2 separate regions of the Homo sapiens genome follow, and region 1 is linked to region 2. The links are contacts of gene promoters, found by promoter capture Hi-C in blood cells and fetal thymus (Javierre and others, 2016). All regions are on one chromosome and are shown on one strand. The core of a region is centred on a gene start or on the middle of the fragment in contact, and the rest is flanking DNA. Distances in the headings are between cores, read along the strand shown.

Region 1 (4,594 bases), core at 1,601-4,100, 94 kb before region 2:
GGGGTACCCTTTTGCTGGACAGTACATGAGTAGCACTGCCTGTATTTGTCTCTATTTCTCTTTGTTCTTTTTCCAGTGTTCACCTCCTCCCCAGAATCCATGCCCCGTTTAATTGCCACATTCTTTCAAAATGGTAACCTTCAATCAGATTAAATGGGATTAAACGAGTGCAAAACAAAACTAGCAAGGTCAACAGAATGTATCATTGCTGTACCTATATAATAGTTTCTCATATTTTATAAAAAGTACAGTTTAACATTCCATTTACCTTGTTACTTTTTGACTACAAGTCTTTGCTTCCCTTGCCAGTCCCTCTTCCCAGTTCTTGACCAAATACACCTAAAAAAGGAATGTCACATTTATGGAACTGTGTGATCTTTCTTTGAATCTGGTTTAACATTAAACTATGGGTTTTTTGTTGTTGTTCTTTGTGATAAGTTCCACCTGCTATACACTGTTAGCGCAAAGTATTTTTTTGGAACACTTTTGTATTAGTTATGGAAATAAATTTTACACATTGATTAAAATGTAGAGAAACATTCATTGAGATTACTCAGCAAGTCCTGCTGGACTAGAAGCTGTTACTTTCTGTAAAATGACTCTAAATATCTTTGCTTTAAACCACTATCTACTGTTTCATAGTTTAACTCCAAGAGCAGTTTTTGTTTGTTTTCCCTAAGCTCTTAGATAAATCCTCAGGGATATCTCAGTGCTTGACATATTGTATTATAATTGCTTGTTTGTCTATTTCTCCCACTAGAAACTATGGGATGATGGTGAGAATTTCACAGCAGGAAAGATTGGGAAGTTTAAGGATCTGAACAGGAGTTAGGTAGGAAAGTATTACATGCTATGATGTAGCTGTATATACCACCAAAAATTCTACCTTAGAATGGTTTAGGTCACTGAATTTCATAATTTTACAATTATTTCATATTCCTTTACATAAGAATTTGTATGTTGCAAGGCTTAAGAAGCTTTAATTTATCAGTTCCTATTAGCGTATCGTCCTCTTTTTGTGTCAAGAAAAGAAACTCGGCTGGGTGCGGTGGCTCACACTTATAATCCCAGCACTTTGTGTGGGAGGCCGAGGCAGCGAATGGATTACCTGAGGTCAGGAGTTTGAGACCAGCCTGGCTAACATGGTGAAACCCTGTCTCTACTAAAAATAAAAAAATTAGGTGGGTGTGGTGGCGTGTGCCTGTAATCCCAGCTACTAGGGAGGCTGAGGCAGGAGACTCTCTTGAACCTGGGAGGCAGAGGTTGCAGTAAGCCGAGATCATGCCACTGCACTCCAGCCTGGGCAACAGAGCGAGACTCCGTCTCAAAAAAAATAAAATAAACCTCATTCTTTTATTTAAAAGGTAATATTTTTTACTGGTAAAAATTGATAAAAATAAGCCAAAGACAACGATTCAATCTTAATCTCATAGAAAAATAAACAGAAAAAAGGAATGTAATACCACTATTTAGAAATAACCCTTATCCTTTCATTCTTTTCTCTGTGCTACATATGCACATATAGAAACATACAACAAATTTAGGAACTGATATTAAAGTTTGCTAATACCACGAATCATGTTTCTTACACCAAAGGCAACTTGCCTCATAGGTGATGTTTGTGTATAACTTGATAATAGCTAACATTTACGGAGTGATTTACAGACATTGTGGTAAGTGGATTATTTAATCCTCACAGCATTATTCTGAAAATAGGAGATTAGGTAACTTGCCTAAGATGGTACATAACTAATAAATGGTTAAAACAGGACTTAAACCCAGGTAGTCTGACTCTAGGACTTATATTTCTCTGTCACACCATACTGCCTAGTCTTTTCAGTTTAAACGTAAGAAAAATACAACTTCACATTAAATTTTTCAAAAGCAAACTAAAACATGACATTGTTCATCGTTTGTCAGATTTTCAAAGGTAAAAACGTTGACAAGACAGAATCTTGTGTTATCATGGATGCAAATAGTGGTTGTTCTCCACCTCTAGTAGCAGGAGTCTAAGTTGGAAAAACCTTTGTAGAGAGCAGCAGTCTATCTCTGCCACATTTGCCAAGCTTCTTAGTTCCCAATTTAGTGAAGACAGCAATTGGAAATAGGAATTTAAAATATATTGTTTCCATGAAATTAATTGTAATGCTTTGGGTAGTCTGGACAAAGGCAAATGCCTGAAAAACTGTATATCAAATAAGGTGTAGATTAGAAAGCTAAACATAAATGAAGTAAAACTGTAACAGTTTAGGATTTTGTACTGATAATGTATCAAGTTCTTGAGCCACTTTAAGCCCAAACTATAAATTATAGATGATGCATCATACATTATGTTTAGATTTCTTTCTTTCTTTCTTTCTTTTTGAGACGGAGTCTGGTTTTGTTACCCAGGGTGGAGTGCAGTGGTGCAATCTCAGCTCACTGCAGCCTCTGCTTCCTGGGTTCAAGTGATTCTCCTGCATCAGCCTCCCGAGTAGCTGGGATTACAGGTGCCTGCCGCCACGCCTGGCAGGTTTTCGTATTTTTAATAGAGACTGGGTTTCGCCATGTTGGCTAGGTTGGTCTTGAACTCCTGACCTCAAGTGATCCACCCACCTTGGCCTCCTAAAGTGCTGGGATTGACAGGCATGAGGCACCGCGCCCAGTCATTTAAAAATTATTTTATTTTATTTTTGAGACAAAGTCTCGCTCTGTTGCCCAGGCTGGAGTGCAGTCATGCAGTCTCGACTCACTGCAGCCTCCACCTCCCGGGTTCACGCGATTCTCCTGCCTCAGCCTCCCAAGCAGCTGGGATTACAGGCAGGCGCCACCATGCGTGGCTAATTTTTGTATTTTTAGTAGAGATGGGGTTTCACCATGTTGGCCAGGCTGGTCTTGAATTCCTGACCTCAGGTGATCCATCCCACTTGGCCTCCCAAAGTGCTGGGATTACAGGTGTGAGCCACCACGCCTGGCTGATTTTTAGATTTTAAATTGAAATGTTTAAGATACATGTGTAACATCTTTTTTTAATGAATCTTTTTATTTTATTTTTTCTCTGAAGCCAGAATGTGCTTACCCCTTTCCAGTTTTTATTATTTTGAGACACATTTTAGATAAGCATGCACACGTAGTTTAAAAAATCAGACACACATTGATTTCTCATATAGCAAGTAAGGTAAAGATTTATAAATCAAATGTTCATAAATCACAAAGTTACTTTTAGGACCCTAAATTTATTTGCATTTATCATCAATTTCCATGTCGCCATAACTATTTTGTATATTCCACAAAATAGAATTGCTTTTGAGGAATGCAGTGTGGTTTGCAGAATTCCCAATACATAGTCATTTGACAGTTACAATTAAAAAAATTATTTGTGGGTTTTTTGTTTGTTTGTTTTTTGGGTTTTTTTTTTTTTTGAGATGGCGTCTCTCTCTGTTGCCCAGGCTGGAGTGCAGTCATGGGATCTCGGCTCACTGCAACCTCCACCTCCCAGGTTCAAGCAGTTCTCCTGCCTCAGCGTCCTGAGTATCTGGGATTATAGGATACAAGTGCAATTTTGCTACATTGATATATTGCATGTGGTGAAGTCAGGAGGTTCAGTACATGGATCATTAGAGCAACACGCATTTTACCCATCAAGCAAGCTTTCATCATCCACCTTTCTCCCACCCCTACCTCTCTGAGTCTCCATTCTCTATTATTCCACACTGCTTTCATATGTACACATTACTATAAGTGAGGACATGCAGTATTTGTCTTTGTGTCTGAGTTGTTTTACTTGAGATAATGGCCTCCAGTTCCATCTATGTTGCTACAAAAGACATTATTTCATTCTTTTTTAAGGCTGAATAGTATCCCATATTGTATATGTACCACATTTTCTTTATCCAGTCCTCTGTTGATAAGACACGGGTTGATTCCATATCTTTCCTATTATAAATTGGTGCTGCAATAAACATATGAGTGCAGGTGTCTTTTGGATATAATGATTTATTTTCCTTTGGGTAGATACCCAGTAGTGGGATTGCTGGATCATATAGTGGTTCCGTTTTTAGTTCTTTGAGAAATCTCTGTGCTGTTTTCCATAGAGGTTGTACTAATTTACATTCCCACAAATAGTATATGAGTTTGTTTTCTCCACACCCTTGTTATCTGTTACTTTTTGTCTTTTTAATAATAGCCATTCTGATTGGTGTAAGATGATATTTCATTGTAGTTGTAATTTGCATTTCTGTGATTAGTGATATTGAACATTTGTTCACATGCTTCTTGGCCATTTGTCTTCTTTTGAAGAATGTCTATTTGTGTTCTTACCCTGTTTTTTAATGGGATTATTTGGGGGTTTTTGTTCAGTTGTCTGATTGTCTGAGATCCTTATAAATTCTGGATATCGGTCCACTGTCAGATATATAGTTTGTAGATACTGTCTGTTCACTTTGTTGATTCTTTGGTTATGCAGAGGCTTTCCCTTCCCAACCCCACCTCCACACGGTCCTGCTCTGTTTTCTAGGCTGGAGTGCAGTGGCACAATCTCAGCTTAACTGCAGCCTCCACCTCCCAGGCTCAAGCTGTCCTCCCACCTCAGCCTCCCAAGTAGCTGGAACTACAG
Region 2 (4,085 bases), core at 1,101-3,600:
GCGCGTTTCTTTCCGGATCTTCTTGCCATCCTTGTCGTATTGGGAGCAGCAAATTTTGCAGCGACCAGTTGGATTCTGTTTCCCGGACGTTGCTGGTATGCTCTTGGGGAAATGTCTTCCAGACAGACGAAGAGGTGTGACATCATCGGAGCAAGGACGACCTCGAAGATGTTGCTGCCCTGGCTTGTGATGCTTTTCCAGCATTCTTTCAATCAATGCCAGTCTGAAGTTTATATGGCTCATCGTGTGCTCAGGATTATCCTTCTTGAACAGGATGTAGGAGTTCAGCACTGTAATGTGTAGAAGATGGTGAAAGAATTTCTTATACCAAACCTTGTGTCTTTTGCGCTCAGATGGATAAGAAGTAAGCATTTGATCAGCCGAGTCCACTGCTCCCATATTCTCGTTATAATCCACAATGACACGTGGCCTTTTAGTTTTCTTTCCATTTCTATTGTTTACTTCAATCACAGTATCATTGTGGAATGTTGACAACATTGTCACCTCCTTGCCGTCACACCATTTCAGTGCCATAAGTTCACCACAGAATCTGGCTACAGTCGTCCCCTTTGCAATCCTTTTTTTCAGATCATTTGGAATCTGTTTTCTGTTCAAACGAGCTGTCCCAACTGCATCAGTCCTATTTTGATGTAATTCTCTGAAAAGCATGGGAGATATATTAAAGTTATCGAGGAAGACACAATACCCTTGGCCAAGAAGGTCATTGACCAAGGTAAGAACAATGCGTGATGATTTCAGGCCATCCGCTGAATCTTTCAAATTCATGCCAGGCCCTGTGTGAACAAGCGCATTCCACACATAACCAGACTGACTTTCACAAAGTACATATAGCTTCAGACCAAATCGTACTCGTTTTGTCGGGAGGTACTGCTTCATAGCTAATGGCCCCTTGAACAGCATCAGTGATTCATCAACTGCAATGTTTCTGTTTGGAGTATATACAGTGGAAAATTTATTTACAAGAAAGTCGAACACAGGTTTGATCTTCTGCAATGAAATCTGGGCCTTTGATTGACCAGCAGATATAGAAGAATTGTTGACAAAATGCAGGCACCGAAACAAAAGTAAAAATCTTTCACCAGTCATAATTTGCCTGAGATAAGGTGTATCCAAAAGAGGCCTTGTTGACCAAAACATCTCCAGCTCAGGTTTCTGCACAATACCTTGCAGTAACATTACTGCAAAAAAGACTTTGAGCTCGTCATTGTCAGTGTCTTTCCATTTATCCATTCGCGAAAATCCTTTCGGACCCGGTGGCTTTGAAGCCAACAAGGCAGCTTGGGCATTTGTTTCTCTAGTAATTTTTGAAACTAATTCCTCAGTAAAGAACAGTTCAAAATACTGCAATGGGTCAGTGATATCACTGACATCGACTTTTCTGCCAGGTGTGCCGGTAAAGTCATACCTTTGACGTGGAATCATAGCACGAGCTGACCATTTCATGGAGCGCCCTGAGTCACTTGATGTAGAGCTCTTTCCATCAGATTCTAAATGGGACAGAGGCCTGATCTTATCGGCTTCTAAAGCACTATCCGAAAAATTATCAGAATCATCTATTTCCGAAAAATCAGATTCATCAAATGAATCTTCAGCCAACAACTGTTCGAGACCGGTATTACTATCACGCATAGGAATGCTACGTTTTCTAGGATTTGACATTTCAGCGATCGAGAATTACTATATTTTGTAGATGGAAATCCCACTACTAAAAACAGAATGCTATAAACAGAATGATGTCTTTTGTTTCAAAAGTCAATATACCAGAACCATGCGAAAATAACAGAAGCGAGATATTTCGTGGCAAACTTTGGGAGTAAGGTTGGCACTGTAATCCACGAGTTATCTCGGCGTAAACGCTGCAGTCGCAGGCACAGCAGCGCGTAATCTCGGGGCTAAGGAGAAATGAGTTAAACGCACACAGACAGAAGAAGCCTTTCATCTCATACGTCTTGGGGAGTCTCTAGAAGTTTTTTGAAAGGTCTCTTCTGGATGGTGTTTCTCCCGAAGCCAGTCTCGTCATCTTTTACTCCCGTGAGGTCCTTGGCCTCCGTGGCTGCCGCAGCAACACACACTTGACTTTCACTTCATGGGCAGTCCCCTTCATAGGCACTTGACACAGGCTCTGTGCGCCGTCTTCCAATCCAGAGTGCCGGGAGTTAAGGGCAGTACTTCCGCCTTACTTCCGCCTCGCTAGTCGATCGGCCATGATCTCTTCCCTCTGGTTGGATCCCACAGCTTATGACAGAAACGGGCGCGCAGTGATGACAACATCAAGCCGCCAGCGGCGGCGGTGGCGGCCGGGAGACTGGGAGGGCTTCCGGGGCTGCCGGTCTGAGTGCAGAGCTGCTGTCATGGCGGCCGCTCTGTGGGGCTTCTTTCCCGTCCTGCTGCTGCTGCTGCTATCGGGGGATGTCCAGAGCTCGGAGGTGCCCGGGGCTGCTGCTGAGGGATCGGGAGGGAGTGGGGTCGGCATAGGAGATCGCTTCAAGATTGAGGGGCGTGCAGTTGTTCCAGGGGTGAAGCCTCAGGACTGGATCTCGGCGGCCCGAGTGCTGGTAGACGGAGAAGAGCACGTCGGTTTCCTTAAGTGAGCATCCTGAGGGCAGCGGGAAAAAGGCTGGGATGGAGGCCGGACAGGGACCCCACCAGGAGAGTTAAGTGTCAGGACGGGACAACGTCGCTGTCTCAGACTGAAGGGGAGGGTGCCGCTAACGGTCTATGCCGGGAGACCTTGGGAGGCAGTCGGATGCTTTCCCTTTCCTGGTCCTGTACCTCTGGAATGAGCATGGCAGGCGCTCACCCCCTGCCATGGTCAGAGCATGGAGTCAGTTATTTCCAACCTTATTTTGGCCCCATGTGGGGACGATCATTCCTGGGCCCTGGGGACAGGTGGACCCTTATTAGTCTCTTGTTGGATTCTTTTATATCTCATCTGGTTTCCCTAGAACCTAGTCGTTTTTTGCATTCACTTCAGTCTTTTGGTAGCTTGTTATTATGTAGAAAGATGCGACACAAGTGGGAATTCTCAAAACCCAAAGGGCTTCTAGTGACGACATAGACTGGGAGGCTAATGTTACTGCTTCTAAAATTAATAGGCTCTGAAATCCCTAATCAAAGCACTTTTTTTTTCTTTTTTTTTTTGCTTGGGGGTGGGATCGTTGTTCTTTTTTACAGTTGAATTCATCGAGAGATTTGCTATATCACACTTGTCATTTATGTGAGACTAGGGTTCCTCTACATTGCTTTCTTGCTTCTGTCCTTTCATGCTATTAGTGGAAGTGGGTTTTCTGTCTATATTAAAAGACAGGATGAATTTGTTAGCACTAGTTTTGCAGCAGCCTGCTTTTGAAATGTCTAGGCACGCGTATGTTGTTTTAAATCTTTCCACCCTTACTTGGAGGTGAAACTGTAAACTGAAAGCAAATAATTAGGAAGTATTTCCTTTGGTGGGTTCGTACACCAGCAAATGGTATCTGAAAATCAGACAACTTAAATGTAGACATTTAAATCCAAATCTGATTTACATATTTGTTCAGATCATCTAAGTGCCCTTGAGTGGTTATTCAACCTCAGATTAATAAATAGTGACAAATTTACAACCAGTATTTTACTGCTGTCTGTCATTAAGAATCTGGCATTAGGGCATTCGTTAGAGTTTACCCTAATTAATGATGTTTTAATGATAAAGTTCTCATTAAGCTTTAGGAATAAGCCTTAATTGACCATTTGGCCACTCTTCTGTATACAGTTCTTTTAAAAAGCATTTAATTTCTGTTTAAAAATAGTATATTAGAAACAAAGTAGGAAAACAACCCTTAATGTTTCATTGTATCTTTCTTTTTATTTTTTTGAGACAAGGTCTTTTTCTGTTACTCAGCCTGGAGTGCAGTGGCGAGATCATAGTTCATGGCAGCTTCGAACTTCTGTACTCAAGTGATCCTCCTGTCTCAGCCTCCTCAGTAGATAGGACTACAGGCGGACACCATCATGTCCAGCTAATTTTTTAATTTTTTGTAGAGACAGGGTCTTGCTATGTTGCCCAGTGTGGTCTCAAACTCCTGGCC

Evidence for each region. The method cuts DNA at HindIII sites, captures the fragments that hold promoters and counts their contacts. A CHiCAGO score of 5 or more calls a contact.
Region 1: a contact is called between a fragment that was not itself captured here and the fragment with the promoter of EMC7 in region 2, in 9 of 17 cell types (naive B cells, total B cells, activated CD4 T cells and 6 more). The highest score is 7.7, in naive B cells.

What each region holds. Positions count from the first base shown.
Region 1 is chr15:34,194,498-34,199,091 of GRCh38, reverse strand. All of the region lies in intron 1 of KATNBL1 (katanin regulatory subunit B1 like 1), which reads left to right. Among named protein-coding and RNA genes, the nearest start is that of KATNBL1, 13 kb to the left of the region's middle. The HindIII fragment of the contact is 1,563 bases long and covers 2,069-3,631 here.
Region 2 is chr15:34,100,127-34,104,211 of GRCh38, reverse strand. EMC7 (ER membrane protein complex subunit 7) reads left to right here and starts at 2,350. Exons shown (of 5, transcript NM_020154.3): 1 at 2,350-2,608. The coding sequence starts at 2,373. PGBD4 (piggyBac transposable element derived 4) reads right to left here and starts at 2,129. Exons shown (of 1, transcript NM_152595.5): 1 at 1-2,129. The coding sequence starts at 1,680. RefSeq lists enhancers at 1,920-2,009, 2,040-2,739, 2,349-3,206. The HindIII fragment of the contact is 6,792 bases long and covers 1-3,722 here.